Regions from separate parts of the Homo sapiens genome. Here all the other regions are linked to region 1. The links are contacts of gene promoters, found by promoter capture Hi-C in human tissues and cell types (Jung and others, 2019). All regions are on one chromosome and are shown on one strand. Each heading gives the region's core, a stretch centred on a gene start or on the middle of the fragment in contact. The rest is flanking DNA. Distances are from core to core; before and after follow the strand shown. Region 1 holds the start of TMEM44 (transmembrane protein 44). Region 2 overlaps PPP1R2 (protein phosphatase 1 regulatory inhibitor subunit 2). Region 3 holds the start of ACAP2 (ArfGAP with coiled-coil, ankyrin repeat and PH domains 2). Region 4 overlaps ACAP2 (ArfGAP with coiled-coil, ankyrin repeat and PH domains 2). Region 5 overlaps XXYLT1 (xyloside xylosyltransferase 1). Region 6 overlaps XXYLT1 (xyloside xylosyltransferase 1). Region 7 overlaps XXYLT1 (xyloside xylosyltransferase 1).

Region 1 (3,934 bases), core at 887-3,386:
ACACAGTGAACCACTAAAATAGTGTAGCCACTTTGGAAAATAGTCTGGCAATTCCTCAAAACATTAAACACAGTTACCACAGATCCCAGCAAGGACACTCCTAGGTATATACCCAAGAGAGCATGAAACCTGTGTCCACACAAAAACTTGTGCACAAATGTTCAGAGCAGCATTATTCATAATAGCCCAAAGGTGAAAGCAATCCAAACATCCCACTAATGAGTGGATAAACGAAATGTGGTATAAAAATACCCATACCATGTATTATGATGAGCCATAAACAGGAATGAAGTACTGATAACACGCAGCAACATGAATGAACCTTGAAAACATGCTAAGTGAAAGTCACAGAAAGGTCATATAGTGGATGATTCCATTGATGTGGAATGTCCAAAATGGGCAAATCCATAGAGACAGAAGGTAGATTTGCGATTCCTGGGCTGCGAGTGTTGAGGGGAGTGGACAGTAACTGCCAGTGGGCCGGGTTCTTTTCAGATGGGGGTGATGAAAATGTTCTAAAAGTAGACAGTGATGTTGGTTGCACAACGCTATGGATACACTAAAAACTGCTGAATTGTACATTTTATTTTTTGTTTTGTTTTGAGATGGAGTCTTGCTCTGTCGCCCAGGCTGGAGTGCAGTGGCGCCATCTCAGCTCACAGCAATCTCCGCCTCCCAGGTTCAAGCAGTTCTCCTGCCTCAGTCTCCCGAGTAGCTGGGATTACAGGCGCCTGCCATCATGCCTGGCTAATTTTTGTGTTTTTAGTAGAGATGGGGTTTCACCATGTTGGCCAGGGTGGTCTCAAACTCCTGACCTCAAGTGATCCACCTGCCTCGGCCTCCCAAAGTGCTGGGATTACAGGCGCGCACCACCATGCCCGGCTAATTTTTGTATTTTTAGTAGAGACAGTGTTTCACCATGTTGGCCAGGCCGGTCTTGAGCTCCTGACCTCAAGTGATCCGCCTGCCTCAGCCTCCCAAAGTGCAGGGACTACAGTTGTGAGCCACCGTGCCTGGCCAGAATTGTACATTTTAAAAGTACTATGTAGGCTGGATGTGGTGGCTCACACCTGTAATCCCAGCACTTTAAGAGGCTGAGGAGGGCAGATCACGAGGTCAGGAGTTTAAGACCAGCCTGGCCAACATGGTGAAACACCGTCTCTACTAAAAATACAAAAATTACTCGGGTGTGGTGGCGGGCACCTGTAGTCCCAGCTACTTGGGAGGCGGAGGCAGGAGAATTGCTTGAACCTGGGAGGCGGAGGCTGCAGGGAGCTGAGATCGCACCATTGCATTCCAGCCTGGGCAACAGAGTGAGACTCTGTCTCAAAAAAAAAAAAAAAAAAAAAGACTATGCTTATGGCATATAAATAATATCTAAATAAAGCTGTAGTTTTTGAAAATTAAAAAAGATTTTTTTTCTTTTTTTCAATCCTGCTCCTTCTATAGAAATATTGTTTTCAAGTCATGTCTTGCTTTAAACAAACCTACTAAAATCAATAAGGAGATTTAAAAATTACAATAATAGTTTACTCTCAAGAAAAACAGCCCTGTGTACTTGAACTGTGCGGTGTGTGGCTGGACAGGAGGCGGCCGGTTGCAGAGATAACCAGCTCTTGGCTGCGGGGCCGTGGGCTAGGATGACATCCAGGAGCAGGGCTTGGGCGACTGCCTGGGGGCGGAGGGTGCCGTTGGCAGCTTCAGAAAGGAGAGTGAGAGGCAGATGTGGGGGTATTTGTTCTCCGGCACGTTTGTTTCCTCCTTCCTGGTCTTGCACCCCACCCTTTTTACTGCGCCCTGTCGGCGATCAGGACCACGCCCCCTTCACCTCGGGATCCCAGCACCCATGCGCTTCAGCAGCGCAACTAATTGCTGTTGGCTCAGGAAATGTGGACAATACGCAGGAAGGGACGCCGTGCCTTACAGCGACCGGCAGGGACTCGGCCGTCCGCGAGCCCAGCCGCCCGCCCCGCTCCGGCCAGGATGTTGGAGGTGGGTGACCGCGAAGAGGTCGGCGGGGGGCGGGGGCCGCAGTCTTTGTGCGCGCGCAGCTCCCGGCTCCCGCCGCTGGGGGGCGGCCTCCGCCCTGCCGACCCCCGACAATAGCGCGAGGGGTGGGGAGCGCGCGGTCCCGGAAACTTTTCCCCGGCGCCTTCGCCGCCGCCGCCCGCGCCCGGGAGCGCGCCCTTCTCTGCCCGCGGTCGGTGCGCTCGGCCGGAGGCGCCGCGGCGGAACGGAACCCAGAGAAGGGCACGCGGGGCGGCGGCGCTCGGGGCTTGCCCGCGGCGAGGGAGGCTGCGCCCAGGTCCCCGGCCCCGCGCCGCGCGCCCAGCCGCGCCATGGGGGAGGCGCCCAGCCCCGCGCCCGCGCTCTGGGACTGGGACTACCTGGACCGCTGCTTCGCCCGCCACCGCGTCTGCATCTCCTTCGGCCTGTGGATCTGCGCCTCCTCCTGCTGGATCGCCGCCCACGCGCTGTAATGGGGCCACGGGTCGGGGGGCTGTCGGGCGGGGAAACGGGCGCCAATCCCCTGCTGCTCCCTCTCGGAAACCTAGAGGAGGGGGCGGAAAGGGGGATGAAGGAGATGGCTCAGTAATAGGATCCAATGGAACATTGCTCTGTAGACTGAAGTGGGATCTTCTTTCCGGATCCCACGCACAGGGAAGCTGGGCTGTGAGCCAAAGGGAGGAGGCTGGGTGGTGCAGCGGATGGGGCCCCGAGGACACCGCGAGCCCTGGGTGCTATTGTCAGCCCTTCGCCATTGACTCGCAGTGTGACCTGGGCAAGCTCCAGAACCTCTCTGGGCCTCCTATGACCGGAGATAATACCTCATAGGATGATGGGAGGATTCGATGAATCAGTACCGTTAAAGCACTTAGTAAATGCTCATTAAACATCATTTGTATTGCTCCAGCTAGGCCACCAACTCTTAGGACCTTGGCAAGTCCCTTGATGTTTCTGGCCTCAGTTTACCCAAAGTCCTCTTAGGTGGGAAGGGAGGTAGTGATATGATCCAGCTGGCCTGTCTTTGCCCTGGTCTGTCCAGCACCTGGACTGGTTTGTCCAGATGCCCACGGTAGCCTAAGTTCTAAGAGTGAATCTCCAGGTCCTCAGCCGCTCTGTCCTAGGCATGGAAATCCACTAGCAGTGCTCAGGATGGTGCCGCCCAAGCATTCCCTGGCAGGGGAGAAAGGACCAGCACCCCTGGGAGAGGTTAGAACTGTCTCCCTGTAGGCACTCAGTGGATATTCTCCTAAGGCGTTTGGTCGTATTGCAGAGATTCTGCAGCCCCACTACCCAGTACTGCAATACAAATAAAAAGACGCCTAGAACATTTACTGTAGGCCCAGTGTTGCATTCATTAACTCATTCAATGCCTGCCACTCACAATATCAGCACCAGGAGGTAGGTGCTGTTACCCCCACTTTCTGTAGGGAACCCTGAGGTTCTGAGAGGTTAAATAACTTGTCTGAGTGAAAGGAAAGAACCAAAACCCCAGATCCTATTGGAAAGGGGCAGGCTGGTAAGAGAGATTAAACTGTTCAGATCAGAGGCTGGAAACTAACAAGGCGCTGGACACGCATTATCCTTTTGTTCCTCACAGTTGTCCTCAGACCAGCACTGTTAGGCACTTTGCCAACCTTGGAGGGGTTAAGAGTGAGCCTCTGCTTCTCACCCTGCCTGGGATCTGGACATACCCATTTGTTTTCAGGGCCTTGCCATCCCTGAACCTCCCCTGCTCCCCTTTCTCTTAGAAGAATGTGTCTTCGGAGTGGTGTGTGGGCTGGGTTAAGGTCAGCTGGCACCCTGGCCCCAAGAGCTGGGGAAGTGGCTGAGAACAACAGGGTACGGAGCAAAGCCCCCGCGTGTGAAGCCAGAAGACCACCATTAACTCACCTTCTCACCAGAGGCCTCAGTTTTGTCCTCTCAAATG
Region 2 (3,934 bases), core at 506-3,005, 880 kb before region 1:
TTTCAGCTAGGAATACCACTGATTTAGAAACAAAACTGTTTGTCTCTGGTTTCTGAATTTAAAATGTTGGGATTACCTGTTTAAATCTGTCTTGGGGGATGTAGAGATTAAGTCTGTACATGTGCGTGCACATATATTCATGCACCCTCTGATTTTGGTTTTCTTGTTTCTGAGTTCTTAGAAAGTACCCACATACTCTTTTTTTTTTTTTGTAGAAGTAGCTGTCATAGAGTGAAGAAAAGGATAAGACTTTAAACAGTTGATTCTTTTTGTGTTTTCTACAAACTATTTTTTGAAATTTAAATCACAAACTCATTTTCTGGTTTTTAGAAAGTAGATGATGATTTCAGAGGAGTAAGGCATGCCAAGCAGCATGCTCAGTGGGGTTTTAGGCTGTCACATGCAGCTGAGAAAAGGTATGTTCAAGTCATAAGTAGGTAATTGATAGGGTATGAACTAGTCAAAATATGAACCATTATGATTCAAGTTAGATTTTCCTCTGGAGAGACAGATCTGAATGTTCAGTTCTAGCCAAGGTAGATTTTACTTTCAACTTTTTAATCAGTATCACTTTCTGTGCTTAACTATTTGGTGTTACCTTGTCTGTTTTCATTTGTCTAAAATTCTGCAGAGATGACTAAAATTTGACATAATGGTGTAAATGGATTGTTAAGGTAACTTTCAGTTGAAGATTAAAGCAAGATGCCATTTTCCCCATGACTTTGGTTTTGTTTACATTTTTCCCTTTCAGTTAGTATACACTACACGTACTGTAATAAAATACAATAATATGACAATTGCCTGTGTGTGGATTTTATTTTATTGTTACTTAGCTATCTCAAGACCATAATCCATCGACCACTTGCCCTGGATACCAGGAGTGGATCATGGATTACGCTGTGGCCGAGTAGTTTCCTCAGTCTTAGTAGCATTGTGCTCAGTCCCTTACATCTAACCCTCAAAACCACCACACAAAGGCAAGCATTCTTATCTACACTTTGTAAGTGAGGAAAGTGCTCTTGGTCAACTTATTTATTAATCATTTCAGTGCCTCACACATGCTAAATGATAGGATTTAAATCCAAACCTAACTAAATTTCATGGTCTTTATTCATACATTTTTTGATGTAGAAAACATTTTAGAAATTGTACCTTACAAATAAATGTATATGGATTATTGATCCATAACTATGCTTTAGGAGTAGCATTTTTCAGGTGTTTGAGCTTCTGGGGTTTTTTAAAATCTGAAAAATTGGAAATAACTTAATTTTGTTTGCAGTTTGTGTGCCATCTAGGAAAAATCGCTCAAAAGCACAAATAGCCAGTGGCTGGAGATGAATGCATGTCATTTGGTTGTGTTTTGCAAGTTTGTTTCTTAGCAGGCTGTTTCAAGCTCAGAACGTGATTTTTTTCATACAATCCATCTTAACAAGTCAAGGACCGTGTCAGCCTATAAAAGCCAACATGTACCCAACACAGGATTGCCCAGTGTGTTCCATGAAACCCTTATCCCACACCATGCTCCGTGAAAATGAGGCAATAAACAAGCCTCGCACATACTGTGTACTTTATTCCCCAGCCTCTTGGAGACTTATGTACATTATTATCATAATAAGGAGTCTGAGCAGTCCTGCTTATAGGAACCTATTTAAAACTTAGTTTTACCTTTTTCAAACATATCTCACTGTAACCACCCCATTTTGTCCATCAAATAACATCCCAAGTAGGGCAATAGGCCAGGGTCTCTCATATATCAAACTTGGACTTTCTCCTAAAAGAGGAAGAGAATGGTTTATCAGTGAAAGAAGGAAGACATGGTAGCAATAACTGCAGGGTATTGATGGATCGGATACAACTTGCCAAACATAAGATTTTACTTTTTGGTAACTTATGCAAGAAACTGCAAAATATATATTCAGGACAGATTAATGTGTAGTTGTGGTTGGTTATAAGCTGCAGTGGTTTTGTACTGATAGACTAGTATTCCAAAGACCTGCTGCTCAAGCAGATTTTTGGAATGTCTTACACTCGCTGTCCACTCTTTGCATAGTTGGTTGACAAGAGCACGTCTGCTACCCGTCAAGAAAATAGAAGAGCAGATAACAAGTGTCTCTGGTCTGTGGCTCATACCCCCAAACTTGGTTACTCCAGCAAAGTGGTTTTGGGATTCGACTCATCAGGTTTTTGATTTGAGGAATTATTGGGGGAGGTAACGCTGAGAGTAGGTGAGTGAGGATGCATTTGGCAAGTGTTTAGTCATGATTTTATCTCAACTGCCCAACCTGAAATTTTTTTCAGTAAAGTCTGCCAAGTGTTCGGCATTTCAGTTCTATTACCAATGGGAATTGTTGCAACTGGAAGATAACGCCTATAAATTGCTCCTATCTGTTTAATTGTGTGTGGATTGATGACAGTGTTGACTAGAACTAGAAGAGGATTCTGCAGGCTAATCTTTTATATCTTAATATCATTTGACCTCACTTATTAAGCAAAGAGGATTATAAGCAGCTTTTCAGTATGCCTTGTTCTAATGGTTCAGTCTGAAAAAGTGTTACCAATAATAGACTAATGAAATGAACATAGGAAGCAAAGTTTAGTTACATTCTCGTTTAGTTAGGCTTCTTGGTCTTGGAAGTATCCCTGTATAAGCAATTACTTAGCGTCAGAATTCTATGTTTTTATCTTCCTATGTAAAAGACACTCTCAATTGAAAAATAAGCATTTTATCATAGGGCACTGTGCCAAGCTAAATTGGGAAATACACACATAAGATTATTTCCCTGCCTTTAAAGAGTTTCAAGCTTAGGTGTGCAGAGCAGAGAGGGAGCGCTGCTTTGCAAGAACAAGGAAGGAGTAAGAAGACATTCACCCTCTGCAGCCATTCTCAGGAGGCCTTTCTGGTAGGTGAGACTGAGAAGGCTGGGCTAGCAAGCCACTGCCATTTATCAGAGTTTTATGTGGATTTTCTTCGTACCAAATGAAGATCTCCGATATGTTTGGTTTGGCTCTGTGTCCCCACCCAAACCTCACATTGAATTGTAATCCCCATTGTTGGGGAGGGACCCAATAGGAGGTGATTGGATCATGGGGGTAGATTTCCCCCTTGTTGTTCTTGTGATGAGGAGTGAGTTCTCAGGAGAGTTAGTTGTTTAAAAGTGTGTAGCACTTACTCCTTTTCTCTCTCTCTCCTGCCACATGTGAAGATGTCCCTACTTCCCCTTTGCCTTCCACCATGATTGTAGGTTTCCTGAGGCCTCCCAGTCATGCTTCTTGTTAAGCCTGTGGAACTGTGAATTAATTCAACCTCTTTTTTAAATAAATAACCCAGTCTCAGGTAGTTCTTTATAGCAGTGTGAGAACAGACTAATACAATGTCTCTAGTCACCTACCTCAAAATTTTTCCTAAGCAAGACAGTTCTCACAAAAATCAGAAATGTCAGATGATTTTTAACACAAAAGCCTGGTACAAATGTTGGATTTCAGAAGTTGAAGCAGATTTGTGGATTGTTGCCATTTAAGCTTCTGCTGCTGTTTTAATAATCCCTAAGTTGATTTACTGGGGGACAAGGGGCTGGGGAAGGAAGGGCTGGGTCAAAACCACAATATGGAAGTCTTGCTTTAGCTTGAAACTGTCTTAGGAAATGTGCTTTGGTTCACTGCTAACTTTGAAAAGCAAACTGGTCCCTGCTTCCCCAAGTAGGAGTGTCTGAGTCTTTGTGTGTATTTTAGAGACAGAGGCTCACTCTATTGCCCAGGCTGGACTCAACTCCTGGTTTCAAGGGATCCTCCCACCTCAAGCCTCCCCAGGAGCTGGGACTACAAGTACACACAGCTATACCCAGCATTTTTTTTTTTTTTTTTTTTTTTTTTTTGGAGAACAGAGTCTCGCTCTGTCGCCCAGGCTAGAGCACAATGGTGTGATTTCAGCTCACTG
Region 3 (3,934 bases), core at 791-3,290, 810 kb before region 1:
GGCCTGACCACTAATGTGCTTGAGGACCCTGAACATTTAACAGTCAATAGTCTGTTTTTAGCTATCAAGAAAAGCTGTGTGGTTTCCAGGAATACACAATTAAAAAAGAAATCAAGTTTATAAGCAAAGAATAAATGAATATAATGCTTCTATATTCTCTGAAATGCCTCAGAATTATACTGTTAATTTTCCTTTTTCCTTTTTTTTTCTTTTGATACAGTGTTTTGCTCTGTCTACCCAGGCTGGAGTGCAGTGGCACAATCATGGCTCACTGCAGTCTTGACTTCCTAGGCTTAAGTGACCCTTCCACCTCAGCCTCATGAGTAACTGGGACTATAGGCATGTGCCTGGCTAATTTTTTGTATATTTTTGTAGAGTTGTAGAGACAGGATTTCACCATGTTGCCCAGGCTGGTCTGGAACTCCTGGAGCAAGGAATCTGCTCACCTCGGCCTCCCAAAGTGCTGGGATTACAGGTGTGAGCCACCATGCCCTGTCTATACTGTTAATTTCTAAAGATGCTAAAGAGATCAAGATATCTCTTGATGGGTTACGAAAAACAGTATGTCATCACGCTATACTTAGCCAGACGGTCAGAAAGTTATATTAAGACTTTAGAAGGCTGGGTGTGTGGCTCACACCTGTAATCTCAGCATTTTGGGAGGCTGAGACAGAAGGATCACTTGAGGCCATGAGTTTGAGACCAGCCTGGGGAACGGAACGAAATTGTTTGATTGTTTTTGAGACAAACAAAAACTTCAGACAGTGAAAGTGAGAGAACTTAGACTTAAGCCCTTTGATTATAGTACTGAAGAGGCAAATGGTACAATTAAAATAGCCAACATTTACTGAATGATCGATATGTGGCACTGTGTTAACCGGACAACTTCATCAGATCTGTGTGTTATGTTCATTTTAAAGTGAGAAAGCTGGGACCTAAATCCAGGAAGTTTGCCTCCAGATTCTCACTCAGAGCCACTATGCTGTTAGAACACCCTGTATATTCATTTTTATAGATACGCCCGTGTTTTTTAGGTTGGCTTAAAAATTACTCATTACATATAAGACATCTTTGTACTTTTTACAATCAATGGCATCTTAAAATGAAGGAGTATGGTAAATACCTGCCGTGAGGATCAGATGATAAGTATCTTAAAGTGCTTCTAGAAAAAGTGTGGATTAGAGGGGCAGGTGTTGCAAGGTGAGTACGATGAGCCTGGTCTTCAGAACCCCACCATGGCAGAACAGTGAAAACCACCAGGAGCAAAGTGTCAGTGAGGGGGAATGCTTTCGGCAGTTTTGAGAGGAGTTCCTCCACACGAAGCACCCTACCTCCCATACCTGCCTAAATCTTTCTATGTCCAACCCAAACGGCAGCTCCTTCAGGAAGTGGTCTCTGGCTATATGAGAAGATGTACATGGGAGCAATTTCCAGATTATGAAGCTATGGAACAAATACATGAAAGATGGATTTTATCACTAAAGTTATCCTCGCTCCTCTTCTGGCCTCAGTTTCTCTAAACTGAAAGGAATAGGTGGCTTAGCCTATCTCTTCCTTTTATAATTTCTGCCTCTAACCTCTTCAGATTTCTGCCAATCTGCTTTGAAAAGCAAATTTCCTTCCTCAGACCTGCAGGAGACTGCTCCTCTGGGCTGGCAGCTCAGCAGGGCGGGGCTCGGGGAGCAGGAGAAGAGGCGGGGGCTCGGAGGGAAGCGCGGCCGCAGCCACGTGACTTCCTTCCCAAGGAACCTCAGCTGCCGGCCTCCCAGCAACCGGTGCGTCCCGCCTAGCGACGCCCGCGCATCCCGGTTGGCCCTCGGGGGCGGTTGTGGCAAGGAGGTGCCCACGGTCGCGCTGCTCATTGGCTCGGGTTGCCGTCGCTCAGACCCGTTGCCCGGGCGCCCGCAGGCGGTGCTGCCGGATGCCCCGCCCCTTGGCCGCCAGGTTCGTGGCTGGCTGGCCGCTGCTGTCACTCCCCGGCCGTTTCCCTGCGGCCAGCGCTCTACTTGGGGCGGGAGGAAGAGGGGCGGGACTGGGGCCTGACTAGTCGTCGCCGTCTTCGCGGCTGCTATGACCAGCGGGCGAGGCGCCCTTCGCAGCTCCGCGCAACGCTAGTCGCGGCCGTGCGCCCGCCGTAGCCGTCTGCGTCCCAGCGCGGCCGCTCCCGCGGCCCCCTCGGCTTTGCCAGCGCCGCCTGCGAGGCGGAGGCAGGATGAAGATGACTGTGGATTTCGAGGAGTGTCTGAAGGACTCGCCCCGCTTCAGGTAACCGGCACGGCCGCCCGGCGTCACCGCGGAGCTGCCTTCCCGGCGCTGGGGGCGTGAAAGCCGGGCCCGCGCACCCGGAGGAGGCCCCGCCGTCCGCTCCTTCCGACGGGGCGAGCGGCTGTTGCCGCCGTTTCCCACCCTGCGAGGGCACTGCAGTCCCCACCGAGCCCTCCCGAGGGGCGACGAAGTGGCGGGGACGGGGACGTCGCCTCTCATTTCTTTCCTTGCCCTCTGCCGGGGCGGAGCGCCCCGAAGGCCGGCGCACCCTCTCCCGCTGGGGGAAATGGGGTGCAGCCGCGCTCCCGAAGTCCCGTCCCCTTCGCGGGCGCTCGCTCTCGCCCCCTTCCTCCTCTGGCTGCTCTTCCTTCCCCCTTCCTTCCGCCCCTTCTTGGTTTCCACCCCCTCCCCACCCCCTCTTTGAGGGAGCTTTCAGGGCATCCTCTTGCAGTTCATTTAGTTCCTCTTTGCGCTTTTCTGCCCCCCTTCCCCGGGGAGGAGAGAGTAGGGGGCGAACTGGGACGCCGACTTCTGCTTCGCGGTGCCCCCGGCCAGAGCGACTCTCCGGAGGGCGCCCGCGGTGGATGCGTGCGGGAATCGCGGGGGGAAGCGCTGTGATCAACCGCATTCCGTGGACCCTAGTTGGTGACTACCTGCTTTTCTTTCCACTTAAGCTCGTTGAAGGGGGCACAGCTGTCGAGAGGTACCGGGCTGAGGGCGGAGGACTAGCAGAAAAGTGCATTTCTGTTTTGAGAACGGAAGTAGGAGGGCCGTGAAGATTGCCTGTGTGTTCCTCTTCCAGCAGCCTCTGCCCAGGAGGGCCCGGATCACAGTCGGATGCTCCCAGTGGATCTGTCACAGAGTTGACATGGGGGCACTCCGATTCACATGGGTTGCCCTTCTTTCTATGTGAGAGGCGGTCGTCCTGAGGCCGTCCAGGACACAGGTTCTTTCTGTTTTGAGGATAGTAGGAAAGTCTTGAGTTGTTTTGGACAATGGAGTTTTTCTAGGTTGCGTTTTACAGTGTATTTATTTACAGGGCTGGTCATAGTCCTTACAAATATAAGGCCTTAACACTTCCGTTAGATAGTGACATTTCTTGAAGCTTCCTCTGAGCACTGGCGTGTGTGTGCCCGCTAATGTCTGGGCCAAGCCTGGATTGTAAATTGCATCCTCTGCCTGGGAACTAACTGTTCTCATCCTTAACACTGTTAATTGGATTTCTTATTCTCCTTTCAGCGAAAAAGAAAAGAATTGTAAAACTAAGGAACTGCTACTTAGAGAAAATTTAAGAACGCTTTTTGCGTTTGCCCTTTGATGATTTTTGGGTATTAATTTTATTGGAGCCTAGGGCTATTATTTAAAAAAACCCACTTCCTTTGATAGCTGTTGTTGCGATTCATTTTTGAAACTTTTATGTTCTGCATTATTGAAGGACTCAAGAGACACAAATAGATTTCCTAGGACAGGCGTGCAGGTTGGTTTCCAGGACAGCATGGCAAGTGGAGTAATTTTTAAAGTGCACCTTAGAAAGTTCAGCTTTTTGTGAAATTTTGTTACTATGACTCAGCTATTTATTTTTAAGTGAAATAATCACAGCATTTTTCCCTTAGAAGATGTAGCTTTGAACTCCCTTTGTTTCACATTAATTTTTTTTTTTTTTTAAGTT
Region 4 (3,934 bases), core at 997-3,496, 730 kb before region 1:
TCTGATCTTCAACAAAGCTGACAGAAACAAGTAATGAGGGAAAGGACTTCCCTATTCAGTAAATGGTGCTGAGATAACTGGCTAGCCGTGTGCAGAAGATTGAAACTGGACCCCTTCCTTATACTGTATACAAAAATCAACTCAAGATGGATTAAAGACTCGAGTGTAAAACCCAAAACTGTAAAAACCCTGGAAGAAAATCTAGGAAATACCATTCATGACATAGGCCCTGGCAAAGATTTCATGACAAAGATGCCAAAAGCAATTGCAACAAAAGCAAAAATTGACAATTGGGACCTTAAAGAGCTTCTGCACAGTAAAAGAAACTGTCAACAGAGTAAACAGACAACCTACAGTGGGAGAAAATATTTGCAAACTACTCATCCGACAATGCTCTAATATCCAGAATCTGTAAGGAACTTAAACAAATTAACAAGCAAAAAACAACCCAGTTAAAAAGTGGGCAAAGGACATGAACAGACACTTCAAAAGAAGACATACACAGCCAAGAAGCCTGTGAAGAAATGTTGAGTATCACTAATAATTAGAGAAATGCAACTCAAAACCACAATGAGATTCCATCTCACACCAGTCAGAATAGGTATTAATAAAAAGTAAAAAACACATGCTGCCAAGGTTGTGGAGAAAAGGGAATGCTTGCTTATACACTGCTGATGGAAGTGTAAATTGGTTCAACCATTGTGGAAAGCAGTGTGGTGATTTCTCAAAGACCGAAAAGCAGAACTACCATTTGACCCAGCAATCCCATTACAAGGTATATACCCAGAGGAATAAAAATCATTCTACCATAGAGACACATGCACACGAGTGTTCATTGCAGCACTGTTCACAATAGCAAAAACATAGATTCAACCTAAATGCCCATTAATGACAGATTGGATAAAGAAAATGTGATACATATGTACTGTGGAATACTGTGCAGCCATAAAAATGAGATCATGTCCTGTAGGAACATGGATGGAGCTGGAAGCCATTATCCAAACTAACATAGGAACAGAAAACCAAATACCACATGTTCTCACTTGTAGGTGAGAACTAAATAATGAGAACATGTGGACACAAAGAGGGGAATAACTGTCCCTGAAGCCCTTGAGGGTGGAGGGTGGGAGGAGGGAGAGGATCGGAAAAAAATAACTTATCAAGTACTAGGCTTGTTACCTGGGTGATGAAACAATCTGTACATCAAACCCCCATGATAAGAGTTTACCTATATAACCTGCACATGTACCACTGAACCTAAAATAAAAGCTAAATAAAAAATTAAGCATTTAGTAAACAAAACAATAATTCATTTTAGTCAGTGTCATAAATATTACGTATGATCAGAAAATCAGATTTAAAAAAATGTTTTTGAATCTCTAAAGGCCTACAATTTATTTAAAATAAGTTTTAATTATGTACACTTAATTTCTTCCTCTTTTTTTTTTTTTTGTTTGTTTTTGAGACATAGTTCTGCTCTTGTTGCCCAGGCTGGAGTGCAGTGGCACGATCTCAGCTCACTGCAACCTCCGCCTCCCAGGTTCAAGTGATTCTCCCGCCTCAGCCCCCCAAGTAGCTGGGACTACAGGCACCCACCGCCATGCCCAGCTAATTTTTGTATTTTTAGTAGAGATAGGGTTTCGCCATGTTGGCCAGGCTGGTCTTGAACTCCTGACCTCAGGTGATTCACCCGCCTTGGCCTCTCAAAGTGGTGGGATTACAGGCGTGAGCCACTGTGCTCTGCCGATTTCTTCTTTAGAAATGATTTTTATGGTTAGGAGTTACTATAAATGAAATTTCATCAAGTCACACTTTAGCTAATTAACACCAAAAGCCAATGATAAATAAAAATGAAGAAGTAACAGCTGAAAAATAACAAAAACAATTATATTCTAATAAGAATCTGTAATACTAAATGATGATGCTATGGAAACAACGATATGTAATTTCATGATTAGTAGGAAAAATATGAAAAATAACATGAAATGATAACACAAATTGTGGTAAAATATAGTTTTGGATGATTCAAATGGGAATGCAGGAGGAAGAATTAATATAGCTTTGGCAAAGTAGTAATTACTACATTCAGAAATTTAACAAACAGTGGCTGGGATAACGCCTGTCATCCCAGCACTATGGGAGGCAGAGATGGGTGGATCATTTGAGGTCAGGAGTTTGAGACCAGTCTGGCCAACATGGTGAAACCCCGTCTCTATTAAAAATACAAAAATTAGCCAGGCATAGTGGTGCATGCCGGTAATCCCAGCTACTTGGGAGGCTGAGGCAGAAGAATCGCTTGAACCCGGGAGGCGAAGGTTGCAGTGAGCTGAGATCGAGCCACTGCGCTCCAGTCTGGGTGACAGAGAGAGACTTGGTCTCAGAAACAGAAACAAACAAAAAACCAGAGAGTTAACAGACAGGCATACAAATAGTACCAAAATGTAATTTTAGCAGTTGTAGATTCTGAATTATACCAAGTAGTTTGCAGCTTTAAAAATCACTATAAAAACTTATAAACATCAATATCTTAAATACGGCTACCAACATCTTGTCAGTAACTTTGACTGTTTAACAACTGCCCCAAAACTTTGTGACTTAAAACAGCCACCAAGTGGGGCTTGGAGGGATCAGCTTACTTCTGCTCTAGTTGGTGCTGGCTGGGTGGCTTGACTGTGGCTGAAGGATTCAGCATGTCTGCTACCTTAGCTGGAGTGGCTGGAATGACTGGTGTTGGCTGAGCTTCTTTCACCCTTTGGAGTCTCTCATCTTCTAGGACTTCTCTCTCTACATTTGGCCTCTCTCCCCAGCAGGCTAGTCAGACTTCTTAATGTGATAGTTGGCCTTCACGAATGTGAAATCAGTGGGTACATGGTCCCTTAAAGCCTGGGCCTACAAGTCACATCGCATCACTTCTGCATTCTTTTGATCAAAGCAAGACTCAGAGCCACCCCAGATTCAGGGTAAGGAAAATCAACTCTACCGTGTGAGTGGGAGAGTGGCACGCACCTGCAGGGATGGGAGGAATTGATGGTGGTCATATATATAGGTTGCCTTTCAATACCTGATCTGTGTGCCAGGACTCAGTGTTAGGAAGCTTGACAATAGTCAACTAATCCCCATTCCCCCAGAGTTTTATTTATGTCATTTGAAGTGTAGCATATAATTGAAAAAATCTCCCCAGGTGATCCTGACATTGCAGTAAAGTTTGAGAACCACTAGTAAAGTTTGAGATAACTGATTCTTAATGAGTGGTCCCTGGACCAGCAGCATCAGCACCATCTGGGAACTTGTTAGAACTGTAGATTCTCAGAGCCCACCCTAGATCTGCTGAATTAGGAGCTGTGTCTGGGAGCTAGCAATCTGTGTTTGAACAAGCCTTCCAGGTGTTTCTGATGTATTCTAACATTTGAAAACCACTGTTTGAGAGCACAGTTTGGCAAACCATGCGTTGCAGGCCATATCCAGCCCATTGCCGTTTTTTTTTTTTTTTTTTTGGCGGGGTTGGGGGGCATATAAGTTTTTACTGGAACACAGCTATGCTCTTCTGTTTCTGTATTGTCTATGGCTACTTTTACACCACAGCAGCAGGGTTGAGTAGTGTGATAGAGGCCTCATGGCCCACAAGCTTCAATGCTTATTATATCTAGCCCTTGGCGGAAAGAGTGTCCTGATGACTGTTGTAAAGGACTCCTTCATTTTTCCCATTTACGGAGACTGTATCTGCCATGACACACACTGAAGAGTGGTCCTTTTAATGTTAGTGAATGTGACTTAGTGGTTTAACTGCCTTTCATGAATTCTTCTCAGTAAAATGGTGTTGGATGAACCAGGCTAATTAAAACCAGATTGTTTGCGAATAAGAAGCAGGCATTAGTAATTTTTAAGGCTCCCCATGTCATTCTAGTCTGCAGCCCAGTTTAAGAAACAGTGGATT
Region 5 (3,934 bases), core at 657-3,156, 620 kb before region 1:
CTCTGGTTCCCTGCACTCATGGTCTCCCTGCCTGCCTTCCCTTGTGTTCGGAAGCCAGTTCTACGCTGTGCTTGCTCTGTGCGCCGGTTTGTCTTCTGTTTTGGTTTCTAGCCTGACACAGCTTTTGGATCTCACCCACTTGTGACTCCCTGCAGTCGTCTGTGTTTTGTGGACAATGAAAGGCTTTGCTCCACGTCCACTGATCGGCTGCTCCAGAAGGAAGCTTTGCAGCCTCCTCAGCTGCAGGCCCAGAGTCATGGCTCCCTCCAACCCATTGCCTGGCCCTGCTCAGCCCACTTGGATGGAGCTGAGTCCCCAGCCCGACTGGGTCCTGCTGGGGGCTGAGCTCGTGGGTGCGAGCCGTGTGGGGTAGGGAACCCCGCTGCTGTCTCCCACCTGGCTCTGCACTCCTGCAGCCCCAGTCCTGCCGTGACTGTCACAGGGATCTCCAGGCCTGGTCGGCGGCTCCCTGTTGTGCGAGCATGGTACTCGGAAACCGCCTTTTCTGCTGGTTTAGTCCGACTGAAGCTCCTTGCTGAGGGACTGCATTCCCTCTGCAAACCTATGGCCTTATGGGTCTTTCTGATGCTGCTGTTATCCCCTGCTCTGTCCGCAGTGCTGGTGAATTTCCCAGCCTGGGGCAGTTGGGGACAGGGTCCGAGTCTGACTTCTTTCTCTTTCCTGTGCAGCGGGTGTGGGAATGGGCGTGTGTCTCTTGAATGAGTATGGTGTTGGCTACAGATGGGCCGCTTTAGATCCTGGCTCTACCTCATCTTTCTGGGAGGTGGGGGGTAGTTGTTTACATTCTCTGAACCACCTCCTCTCTGTAGCAGGGGCCCAGTCCTATCACCTGCCCCAAAACATTGGTGTGAGGGCGACGTTAAGTGACTGAATGTGCACAGCGCAGCTGTTTGTGCTTGACGCGTGCTAGGTGGACCCTTAGGCACTGCCCTGGCCCCGTGAAGGCCCTGCAGGTCTGTGTCCCACCCTTGGTGGCTGTGCCCAGCTTTAGCATGCCACCTCATGGTCCTGCTCAGTGGCTCACCTGCTCACCCTGTGTCAGGTCCCAGCCTGGCGCAGGTGGCTGCCCCTGAATCTGGGCCTTGCGAGCCTGTTGCCTGGATGCCCAGGTTCCAGATGCTTCACCTTGGGAAACAAAAGAGCAGTTTTGGCACAGAGATCCCGCAGCCTACAGACTTAATTATGCCCCGTGGACGTGCTGAGCAAGAGTGAGAGGGTGACTGAGCCTGCAGAGGGCTCTGTGTGATGCCATGTGGCCCCCAGTTTCCTCACAGGGGAAAAGGAACAAGCTTCCGGCTCAGGGAATGGCTTCCCAGGAGCAGATGGTACTTTGAAAATCACCTCGTCAGGCTTCGAGCCTGCGTCCTGTGGTTGGGAGGGTGAGGGGCGTGTTGTTTCTGCTGCTGACCCCAGTTTCAGGGCAAATTTAACCTGTGGTCAGTGCAGGGTGGGGCTTTGGTCCCAGGCCCTGGGGCTGAGGCCCTGGAGAACCTGCCAGGCCTGGGCAGTCACTGCTGACGTCTGTGGCCAGAGTCTCCAAGCGCTGAGGGCCCCCTGGGGCCTGATTTATGGGGGTCTTTGGGGGACTTGTTCCAGCCTGGAAATGTGAGAGGGAAATCTCCCCACCCCAGTGGGGGTGCCCCCTGGTGCACAGCTGGGCAGTGGGCACCCCCGTGACTTGTCCGAGAGCACCGTTTCCCTCTGGTGTTACCCTTTAAAACTCACTTGAGGGAAGAGTGATTGGCTACATAGTTGAATTTGCTGAGCAGCGTTTGCAGAGGATGTAAACTGCCAGGTAGGCTGGCCCTGCTTACTGGTCTCTTCTTTGGGCTCACTGAGTGACTGAGTGGCTTTCGCTTTGATCAGAAATGTGAACAGGCCGGGCGCGGTGGCTCACGCCTGTAATCCTAGAACTTTGGGAGGCCGAGGCGGGCGGATCACCTGAGGTCAGGAGTTCGAGACCAGCCTGGCCAACATAGTGAAACCCCGTCTCTACTAAAAATACAAAAATTGGCCAGGCGTGGTGGTGGGCACCTGTAGTCCCAGCTGCTCGAGAGGCTGAGGCAGGAGAATTGCCTGAACCCAGGAGGCGGAGGTTGCAGTGAACCAAAATCACAACACTGCACTCCAGCCTGGGAGACAAAACTCCTTCTCAAAAAAAAAAAAAAAAAAGAAAAAAAAAGAAATGTGAGCAGTTGAAGATTTTAGAACTGATGTGGCTCTCAGAGAGTTGGGAGACATTTTAAGGCAAATGCAAAATGAAAACGTGTCTTTTGCTTAAGGCTGTGTCTTAAGCAGGGGCCTTGGGAAATGAAACGGGATCTTGCCGCTTCGCCTCCTGATTTCTGGAGCTGTTGACTTCTCAGCCTTTTTCTGTGACATGTGCAGCATCTGGACCTGATTTACGGGAGTCTTTGGGGGATTTGTTCCAGCCTGGAAATATGAGAGGGAAATCTCACTGCCCCAGGAGAGGAGTCAGTGCTTAGGGCAGCCTTCCCTGGGCCCCGGGGAGAGGGAGGGTCCAAGAAAAGGGCAGGAGAAAGTGCTTGGAGAAAAGCGGGCAGCTGGGGTGCAGTGCCTGGGCTCCACGGAGAGCCCTTTGTGACTTGCTTCTCCAGGTAGTGGAAAGCTGTAAATCTCATTCAACAAACCGTCTTCATTTTCCCACGTTCCCTTGAGCCCTTGTTTCTTGCAGGCCTAATTTGGATAGAGCAGGGGAATTTTGTTCTCTACTCACGTTACTGAATAGGGGACCCACCTGCGGTGGCGTATGCCATAAACGCCTCCCCGCCTCGCCGCCCCTGCCCTGTCTCCAGCTTATTGTTCATATCACTGTAGCATACGTTATAGTCATATTTCTTTTGTAACCTGAGCTGTGAGTTTCTGTTTTTTTCACACAATAAATAACACCACAGTGAATCTCTCTCTCTCTCTCTCTCTCTCTCTCTGTGTGTGTGTGTGTGTGTGTGTGTGTGTGTGTGTGGTTTTTTTTCTTCTTTTGAATTGTTCCCAGGAACCTTCCTTGATTCTCCACAAGAAACACTTCCCAGTCCTATGTGGTCCTGTTCCCACAAATTAACACATGTGAAGATCAGGTCTATCAGGGCTGCTCCTCAGTGCCCACTCTCTTGCCTCTTCATTATAAAGAATTTTTCCTGCTAATTTATATTACACAGCCCCGCTTTTTGCCTCTCACGATATATTTTTTAGATGTTAAAAAATTTTAATTCTAAAATAAGCCAAAACAGAAAAATGAAAACAAAAAAAGTAACAGATATCTTTGTTTCTACTGTGTAAGTTAAATAGGTGCTAACATTTTTCTCTATTTGCTTAAGATTCTTTTTTTAAGGAAATAAAATATTATAGACGTAGCTAAAGCTCACTCTATTTCTTCTCCATCCTACTCCCTCCAGAGGTATTTACTGTCACAAATAAGAAGTTGGTGTTTTGTGCAATTTGTATGTTTTTAATTTTTACCACATATGTATGCATAAAATATATATGTATTACTGCTTTGTATGTTTTCAGCAGTTATGTAAACAGTCTCATATATCCATTTGACATTTCATTGTGAGTATGAGATTTCATAGCCTTATGATTTTGAGATTTATCTTTGCTGATACATGGAAGTCTTGCCCTGTCATTTTAATTGCTGTGTAGTATTTTATTGTGGGTGGACCTCCGTTTACTCATTTGCCTTCTGAGAGATGGCCGGGTGGTTCCCCTGTTTTGTCACTCCCACTACTGTGAACACCCAGGCGAACAATGTGCTTGAGGCTCTCCAGGGTCACGCCTGGAAGGGGCTGCTGGGTCCTGGGGTGTGTGCATCTTCTGCTTTGCAGGACCCTGGTGAGCTCCCCTCCAGGTGGCTGTTCCCCTTCCCATTCCATGTTCTCTTGAGCACTTGGCGGAG
Region 6 (3,934 bases), core at 658-3,157, 590 kb before region 1:
TATACCCAAAAGAAAGGAATTAAGTATATCGAAGACATATCTGCACCCCCATGTTTATTGCAGCACTATTCACAATAGCTGGGATTTGGAAGCAGCCTAAGGTTCCATCAGCTGATGAATGGAAAAAGAAAACAGTACATATACAAAATGGAGTACTATTCAGCCATAAATAAGAATGAGATCCTGTCATTTGCAACAACAGTGATGGAACCGGAGATCGTTTTGTTAAGTGGCATAAGCCAGGCACAGAAAGACAAACTTTGCATGTTCTTATTTGTGGGAGGTAGAAATTAAAACAGTTAAACTCGTGGAGATGGAGATTAGAATGATGGTTATCAGAGGCTGGGAAAAGTAGTGGAGTGAGTTGGGGGAGGAGGAGATGGTTAATGGATACAAAAAATATTGGCAAAGGGTGAGTAAGACCTAGTATTTGCTAGCACAATAGGATGACTACAGTAAAAAGTAGTTTAATTACACATTTTCAAATAACTAAAATAATTGGATTGTTTGTAACACAAAGGATAAATGCTTGAGGTGATGGATACCTCATTTACCTTGATATGATTATTATGCATTGTATGCTTGTATGAAAATATCTCATATACTCCATAAATATATATACATACTCTATCCACAAAAATTAAAAATAAAAAAATAGTAACAAAGTTTTTCTAAATTTAATAGTGTTTTAGAAATTAAAAGAGACCCAAGAATAAAAGGAAAGGTGAACTAAGAGAGATATAGGTTAAAAAGAAATATAAGAGAAATAAGCTATGTAAGAGATACAGGCCGGGCGCGGTGGCTCATACCTGTAATCCAACACTTTGGGAGGCTGAGGTGGGTGGATCACCTGAGGTCAGGAGTTCGAGACCAGCCTAGCCAACATGGTGAAACCCTGTCTCTACTAAAAGTAGAAGAATTAGCCAGGCATGGTGGTGGGCGCCTGTAATCCCAGCTATTTGGGAGGCTCAGGCAGGAGAATCACTTGAACCTGGGAAGCAGAGGTTACAGTGAGCCGAGATCACGCCACTGCACTCCAGCCTGGGCAACAAGAGTGAAACTCTGTCTCGAAAAAAAAAAAGAGATACATATAGAAGAAATAAGGGAAATAGGCCGGGTGTGGTGGATCATGCCTGTAATCCCAGCACTTTGGGAGGCCGAGGCGGGCGCATCACGAGGTCAGGAGATCGAGACCATCCTGGCTAACATGGTGAAACCCCATCTCTACTAAAAATACAAAAAATTAGCTGGGGGTGGTGGCGGGCGTCTGTAGTCCCAGATACTTGGGAGGCTGAGGCAGGAGAATCGCTTGAACCCGGGAGGCGGTGTCAGTGAGCCCAGATTGCACCCCTGTACTCCAGCCTCGGTTGACAGAGTGAGACTCCATCTCAAAAAAAAAAAAAAAAAAAAAAGTGAAATATAGGCCAAAAGCAGAACCAACAGTAGGGAAGAGCAGACGGTGGTTTACAGGGCCACGACCACCGATGGCTCTGGAAGTGCAGGTAGTGCAGGCAGCACCCTGAGACTGGAAGGGCAGGTGGAGGGAAAGGGGAAAGGTGAGTGATGGAGTGGAGCCCGCCTATTGGAGAGCTTCAAGGGCACCACTTGCCACTGTCTGGCAGGGCAAGTGACAGTGTAAACAGGGCAGTCAGGGGTTCACGTGGCTTTGCCTTTTGCTGCTGGCACCTGTTCAGGTGGGCTCTTCGGAGTTGATGAGGTGGTGATTGAGCAGCTAGGATGCAGTGTGGCAGGCTTGTCCTGTCACATACCAGAGAAGATGGTGGCGGGAGGTGGCGCTTGCAGAACTCTTAGGAGCACTGAGGAAGAAGGTGGAGGAACACCCAGCCTTCTGGCTTGAGTGCCTCCTGTGTGTCGTAGAAGGATCTAGATCCTGTGGGGGCACATGGAACAACAGGAAAAACTTGCAAGACCTGTGGGACCAGTACATGGTCATCTGGTATCACATGTGAAGCTGGGGCTGCGCATGGGCCATACTTCTCATCTTCTGGAGTAGAGTTAGACAAGGAAACCCAACTCAGGATCGCGTTAGTACTCTTGTCTGCTCTAATCGCGGGTTGAGCTGATGTCTTCATCCTTTGTTGGTTGCTGTTAAGGAATGAGGATGCGTTTATGGTGGAAAGAGTGTGGGGCTGAGAATCTGGAGGCCAGGGTCAAGTTCTGACTCTGCATTTATTATCTGTGTGACTTGCTGCAAGTGTAACCTGTCTGAGTGTCTGCGTCCTTATTTGTAATTTGGAGGCTATAATAGTGATGTCTGCCTCACAGAAGCCCTAGGTTGTCGTGGGGATCAGTGTGGGTATGTGAGAGTGTTTCATAAATTGCAAAGCTCTGCCGTAGCTGATTATACCTCTGGACTTCTAAGTGCTTTGAGGAAAGTGTACCTGGTTATTCCTTATACTTCTCACAGTGCCTCCAGAGTGTCAGTGATACTCAAGAAATGCTAGTTGAGTGTGAGTTTACTGCAGCACAGAGCAGTTTCCGGGTTCCATTTTCCAGTGGCCAGACCCTCTCCTTGTTCACACTGTTGGATGAGGGAGGTAGAGCTGGAGCATCGGACTGGCCTATGGAACAGATGCAGTGGCCACCAGGAGGTGGCGATGCCTGGAGCAGTGTTAGCCATGCAATGTGATGAGGATCACACACTCTCACGTGGTTTCCAGTCGCTGGGCACAGAGCTACCTTCAGGGGGGCCCAGCTTCATGTTCAAAAGCAGGAAGCAGACTAGGGGCTGTTTCCATTTCCTGTCCTCCCACTTCTCTTCCACTGCACAGCCCGTACATGCATGCCTGCATGCCACCCCTCACACAGTGTCCCCATCTCCTTAGTGCGGCCTCAATTCTGACTCCTGGTTGTTTCTCGTTTCCTTAACTCTCCGTTGCTACCCCTAGCCCCATCCCCTGCTTGTGGACCCTGGAGAGGCACTGTCTGCCTCTGCCTCTGTGGGCCCAGGTGCTTGTTGGGTGTTGAGCTTGCAGTGAGAACTGGTTTGCTGAGCCTTGGTTTTTTTTGCACCTGCTGCAGGTCATCTTCCACGATGTTGCTGTGCTGACGGATAAGCTCTTCCCCATCGTGGAGGCCATGCAGAAGCACTTCAGTGCTGGCTTGGGAACCTACTACAGTGACTCCATCTTCTTCCTCTCGGTCGCCATGCATCAGATCATGCCCAAAGGTAACCTGGGCTTCCAGGAGCAATAGCCCCTGGGTGTCTGACTTTTGCATCCATTTCCCTGGTTCCAACACTGCCCAGGCCCTGTATCAGGGAGAATAGCTCCACTGAACATGAAAGAGTGGACGAGGGAGCCAGACCAAGCCCTTTGTACCACCGAGCTTCCTACACCAAGAATCAAGGGCAGGGCCTTGGTTGCATAGCTCCCGGGGTCCATTTATGAGGACACAGGGGGTCTCTGGGCTCTGGTCTGGACTCTGCCCCTTGCACTCGCCCCCTTCTTTCCCCACTGCTCAACCCCCATACTTTGTTTGCTCATCTGAAAAATGGTGGGTTGGATTAGATGATCCTCCATCCAAATTTATGCTCTTGTTCTTTCTAGTTTGAATCTGTATTTATCTGATTTTAAAATAGCAAATCTAGATGTGAGAGGTGCAAATTACGACCATGTAGAACTTCTGAAGAAACTCTGATGCGCAATTAGAAGGATTTTCTGGGCGTCTGTCTCCAGGAAAGAGAGATGCATCATCCAGTGTGTGATAGGTCCAGCTTATGTGGAATTTCTGGCAGGTCTGGTCATGCTTGGACTGGAAGCCTTGGAGGGTCTAACTCCTAGAGTGTGTCTGGTTTCTAGGATCTCCCTACAGTGATCCTTAATGGGTTCTGGAGCCCTGGATATTGACCAGTGTATTAATCTGTTCTCACGCTGTTCATAAAGACATACCTGAGACTGGGTGATTTATAAAG
Region 7 (3,934 bases), core at 386-2,885, 520 kb before region 1:
CAGCGGTAACTGTGCATCATTCACTGACAACAGTAAGAGTCCAGTGCCCTTTTCTCTGCCCTCCACTTCATTTTCTGTCCGTGGCCGAGCCTCCCAGGAGGTGTACCTGTGTCTCATTGTCCTTTTCTCTTTCCCGCAGAGATCCTGCAGATCATTCAGCTGGACCTAGACCTGAAGTTTAAGACCAACATCCGGGAGTTGTTTGAGGAATTTGACAGTTTCCTGCCAGGCGCCATCATCGGCATAGCCCGGGAGATGCAGCCAGTTTACAGGTGCGTCATGACTGCAGGGGGGCCGCCTCCACGACCCCTCCCCACCCTTCACCCTCTCTCTTCTGCCAGCCGTGACAGATTGGGATTTAGTGGCGTCCGATCCTTCTGCACTTAGTATCTTGGGAACACATTGGTACTTATTGCTTACAGTTGATTGTATGGGCAGGTGGGTCTATCCCAAGCCGTAGGTGCTACCTCATTATTTTGTTGGAGTTTGTGGCCTTTTTCTTCTGAAAAGCCCAGTTGTTCTGGTTGTTGGATCTGGTTAAGCTCAGAATTTTAAAATCTTGGGCTTTGCCTTACGGAGGAAGATTTAACTTCCCTTCTACTGACCAGCTGGGCTTTCTTGGCCTGTGAGTCACCAGTGACCCCCATTCTCTATTAGCAGAGTGGGTGGATTGGTGGTCTTGTAGGGAGGGAAGACGTCAGAACACAGACTGGCATCAGTAGTCAGCACGAAGAAGCGCATTCCGCATGATGCTGCATTTGATTGTCAAGCCTGTGTCATGGAGAAACTCCAGGACTGAGAACCATTCTGGAATATTCACTGTAGCGTTATTTGTAGTAGCCAAAACTGAAAACGACTCAAATTTGCTACTTAGCAGAATGGATAAATAAAACGCATTCATTCAGTTGAGTGCTATACAGCAACAGCAAAAAAGGGAACGGCTCCATGCGACGAGAGCGAAACCAAACTGGAACCTTTAGGGATGCACATGTGCAGGTGCGGAGAATGGGAAAGGAGAAGGGGGGTGATGCTTCCCAAAGCCGGCGTGGCAGGCGGTGGGGGGCGTGGGGGTGGGTTGGCTCTGGAGAGCTGCAAGGTCTCAGTTCCCCACTTAGCTTAGCTTCATGTTTGCATGCACTTTTTTGTGTGTTCTTGTTCTACATCTTGTAATTAAAAAAAAAAAAAAGGAAAGGAACAGCTGAAGCGGGTTTTGATTACAATAAACCAGGCCTGTGGCCCTGGGCCTGGAGAGTTTCATGTTGCTGGCTGTTTCTCCAGCGGGTAGAGCGATAGCACACCCAGAGCAGAGCTGCCGAGTTTGTTCGGAAAGGGCTGGGATTTTGCTGTCCCGCAGGCATGCCCCGCTCTTTGTTCTCAGTGCACACCGTGATGCTGGCTCCCTGCCGACCTTCCTGGAGGGAGGCCCAGTCGTTGGAGAGCTGCAGAGTACAGGCAACTAGTGAGTCAAGAGCCTGTGTTTCCCCTCAGAAAGAGGGGGTGAAGAGGCAGCTTCAGCTCGGTTGTGGCTATTTGCATGACCCAGATCACATAACAGGAAATTCCTGCAAGGCCCCTAAATGAGCTGATAACTCCTTGGGCCGTGTGGACTTTTCTCCCTTATATAATCCTCTCACGTGTGGCCCCAGAGTCACTGGGTAGGCCTCTTCCTCTGAGGTCAGGGGTTGGCGACTTGAGAGGGTTTGGGCAGACACCTGCCATCTTAACTGTAGAAGACTCCCCACCTTCTTCCCTCCCCTTCATACCAGGAAGATCTGCTGGGGTCCTTGGTCCAACAGAGGGAGGTGATAGTGGTCGCAGCAGTGAATCCATATGGGTCCGTAGCACCCTCACTTCCTGCCTCTTCAGAAGAAAGAATTTGAGGGGCCTCAGGCAGAGTGAGAGACCAAGGCAAGTTTTAGAGCAGGAGAGAAAGTTTATTAAAAAGCTTTAGACCGGAATGAAAGGAAATAAAGTACACTTGGGAGAGGGCCAGTGGGTGACTTGGAGATCAAACGTGCTGTGTGACTTTTGACTTGGGGTTTTGTACATTGGCGTGGTTCTGGGGTTTGCGTTACTCCTCCCCCGGTTCTTCCCTGAGGGTGGCCTGCAAGCCCTTGGGAGGGAGCGCAGTGTGTTTACCGAGGTTGTGCACGCGCTCCCTGGAGAACTCAAATGAAGTAACAGTGGAAGTTTCTGTTGCGAGAGAGACCCTCATTAAAGAGCATTTCCCCTCCCTCCCTCTCTCCCTCCCTTAATCTTCATTCCTCTTTGTGTTTTCTTTACCAGATGGTTTGTTTCTGTGATTTATTTCCTGGTTTCTTCCCTTACCAGTCCAGCCTTCCTAGAGGAGGGTTTTGCCTCCTAGTGCACATGCCTCCTAGTGCCACCGTTTTGCCTCCTAGTGCACATGCTTGAGCCCACGTGCCCAACTCCTGAAATCTTACCAGGAAGCTGCTGGTCGTCAGTTCCAGGTTCTTTCTATCTACTGGGACCCTCCCTTTCCCTGGCGCTGGCTGCATCCAATTATCATTTTAGAGAGACGGTTGACAACTGCCTGACCATCAGCTGATGGTCGCCTGACATTCCTGGTGGTGGTGGAGCCCTCTCCTGCCCTGCTCATGTCTGACTAGCTACCTACTGTAACAATACAGGGAGCCTCAGAGTCCCAAGCCCTAGATACTAGTCCCAGCTCTGCCACCTTGGGGCCTTTGTTCCCCCACCTGAGAAGGAGAAGAGCTGAGCTCTAAGTCCCCGCTCCCCGGCTCTGGCATTGGGGGTTACAGCCCTTCGGACCCTCATTGTCCTCCCTCCGTCTGGAAGTTGCCTGTCTGCTGGTGAGCTCTTCAGGGATCGGGGAGAACTGACGTCATGGGGTGTTTAAACTGGGCTAAGTATTAAATGCAGTTACAGCGCCAATGCCTTCAAGGCCTGCTTTGGAATCTTCTCATGTGATATAAATGGAAACTTGGAAACCCATCGTGCTTAGACAGGATTGGCCAGAATTTGTATTTTCTGTAGATCTAGGATTTTATAAACAGTGCAACTTAAAATCAGTTTAATTATCTGGACTTCCTGAAAGAAAGCTCTGAAAGATTTTAGATTCGAAATGAAACTGAGTTTTTCTAACCCTGAGCATCTTTAATTTTCATTATGTACTATGATAACCATGAGACCTCCGCTGCAGCAGAGTCTGAAGAATGGCGTTTGCAGGGCCTGGGCACTCAAAAATCAACAGAGACTTATACTCCTTTTCATGCTCCCTCCCTCCACCCCTCAGCTGAAATGTTTCCAGAGACCTTTAATAATGGAGTCTGCAGATGACAGCCCTGCACTGCCTGCCGCGTGCCCCGCTGGCTCTGGGGAATTGCCTTGTAACGTTTGCAGTCTCATGCTGGGGCTGGGAATGGCTTGGTACTGGCTGGCCGACAAGGAATTGAGCATGTTTTTTGCCTTCTTTCACAAGAAGACTGGGGACCTCTGGGGACCTGGGAGATCCGGCATTAATTATCTGCTGCTTTGGAGTGTTCACCTGGCTGGCAGTGGGGCTAGGGTGGGGAGGCTGAGAGAAGGAAGAGGATGGGAATGGAAGGGGAGAGAGGAAGCAGGGACAGCGCAGCCCGCCTTTCTCTTGAGCAGGCGGTCTCGGCCCTTGGGCTTGGCCATTGCTGCGGCCGTCAGACTGCTTCCCACAGAGGTCCCCTCTTGCCCCTGCCTGGGACTTCCATGGAACTGGCAGTGGGCTCTGACCACCAAGGGGTCTCCCCAGAGAGGGGAGTGAGGTGGACAAGTGTTTTATTTTAAGAAGAACATGCTAGCATCTATATGAAAGGAAAATTTAAACACAAAACAGCACAAAACCAAATCTTGACTAGGTAAGCAGACACATTTTAATCTGGAAACTTGCTGAGCAGGAATAGATTTGGATCTCCCCAGC

Evidence for each region. Contacts are between HindIII fragments. The study calls those that stand out against the background at their distance.
Region 2: a contact is called between a fragment that was not itself captured here and the fragment with the promoter of TMEM44 in region 1, in 2 of the 25 tissues and cell types used here (liver and spleen).
Region 3: a contact is called between the fragment with the promoter of ACAP2 here and the fragment with the promoter of TMEM44 in region 1, in 1 of the 25 tissues and cell types used here (IMR-90 fibroblasts).
Region 4: a contact is called between a fragment that was not itself captured here and the fragment with the promoter of TMEM44 in region 1, in 1 of the 25 tissues and cell types used here (spleen).
Region 5: a contact is called between a fragment that was not itself captured here and the fragment with the promoter of TMEM44 in region 1, in 2 of the 25 tissues and cell types used here (bladder and spleen).
Region 6: a contact is called between a fragment that was not itself captured here and the fragment with the promoter of TMEM44 in region 1, in 1 of the 25 tissues and cell types used here (spleen).
Region 7: a fragment that was not itself captured here is called in contact with the fragment with the promoter of TMEM44 in region 1 in 5 of the 25 tissues and cell types used here (IMR-90 fibroblasts, dorsolateral prefrontal cortex, psoas muscle and 2 more).

The regions. Positions count from the first base shown.
Region 1 is chr3:194,631,621-194,635,554 of GRCh38, reverse strand. TMEM44 (transmembrane protein 44) reads left to right here and starts at 2,136. Exons shown (of 10, transcript NM_001011655.3): 1 at 2,136-2,476. The coding sequence starts at 2,340. TMEM44-AS2 (TMEM44 antisense RNA 2) reads right to left here and starts at 2,627. Exons shown (of 2, transcript NR_186047.1): 1 at 2,388-2,627. RefSeq lists a silencer at 1,938-2,367. The HindIII fragment of the contact is 16,299 bases long and covers 1-3,934 here.
Region 2 is chr3:195,511,288-195,515,221 of GRCh38, reverse strand. PPP1R2 (protein phosphatase 1 regulatory inhibitor subunit 2) reads left to right here. Exons shown (of 6, transcript NM_006241.8): 6 at 1-794. Among named protein-coding and RNA genes, the nearest start is that of PPP1R2, 30 kb to the left of the region's middle. The HindIII fragment of the contact is 4,639 bases long and covers 1-3,934 here.
Region 3 is chr3:195,441,126-195,445,059 of GRCh38, reverse strand. It overlaps ACAP2 (ArfGAP with coiled-coil, ankyrin repeat and PH domains 2), which reads left to right and starts at 2,040. Exons shown (of 23, transcript NM_012287.6): 1 at 2,040-2,265. The coding sequence starts at 2,213. RefSeq lists silencers at 1,676-2,175, 2,296-2,515, 2,536-2,585 and enhancers at 1,997-2,496, 3,036-3,125. The HindIII fragment of the contact is 9,168 bases long and covers 1-3,915 here.
Region 4 is chr3:195,366,613-195,370,546 of GRCh38, reverse strand. The region is part of intron 4 of ACAP2 (ArfGAP with coiled-coil, ankyrin repeat and PH domains 2); the gene reads left to right. Among named protein-coding and RNA genes, the nearest start is that of ACAP2, 74 kb to the left of the region's middle. The HindIII fragment of the contact is 3,212 bases long and covers 641-3,852 here.
Region 5 is chr3:195,251,763-195,255,696 of GRCh38, reverse strand. The region is part of intron 1 of XXYLT1 (xyloside xylosyltransferase 1); the gene reads left to right. Among named protein-coding and RNA genes, the nearest start is that of XXYLT1, 17 kb to the left of the region's middle. RefSeq lists enhancers at 1,356-2,143, 2,933-2,982 and a silencer at 3,802-3,851. The HindIII fragment of the contact is 4,979 bases long and covers 1-3,934 here.
Region 6 is chr3:195,225,965-195,229,898 of GRCh38, reverse strand. It overlaps XXYLT1 (xyloside xylosyltransferase 1), which reads left to right. Exons shown (of 4, transcript NM_152531.5): 2 at 3,043-3,190. Among named protein-coding and RNA genes, the nearest start is that of XXYLT1, 43 kb to the left of the region's middle. RefSeq lists an enhancer at 2,929-3,523. The HindIII fragment of the contact is 8,654 bases long and covers 1-3,934 here.
Region 7 is chr3:195,152,787-195,156,720 of GRCh38, reverse strand. It overlaps XXYLT1 (xyloside xylosyltransferase 1), which reads left to right. Exons shown (of 4, transcript NM_152531.5): 3 at 140-272. It overlaps XXYLT1-AS2 (XXYLT1 antisense RNA 2), which reads right to left. Exons shown (of 2, transcript NR_102711.1): 2 at 3,865-3,934. Among named protein-coding and RNA genes, the nearest start is that of XXYLT1-AS2, 6.9 kb to the right of the region's middle. RefSeq lists enhancers at 1,300-1,439, 2,877-3,517, 3,518-3,934. The HindIII fragment of the contact is 7,618 bases long and covers 1-3,934 here.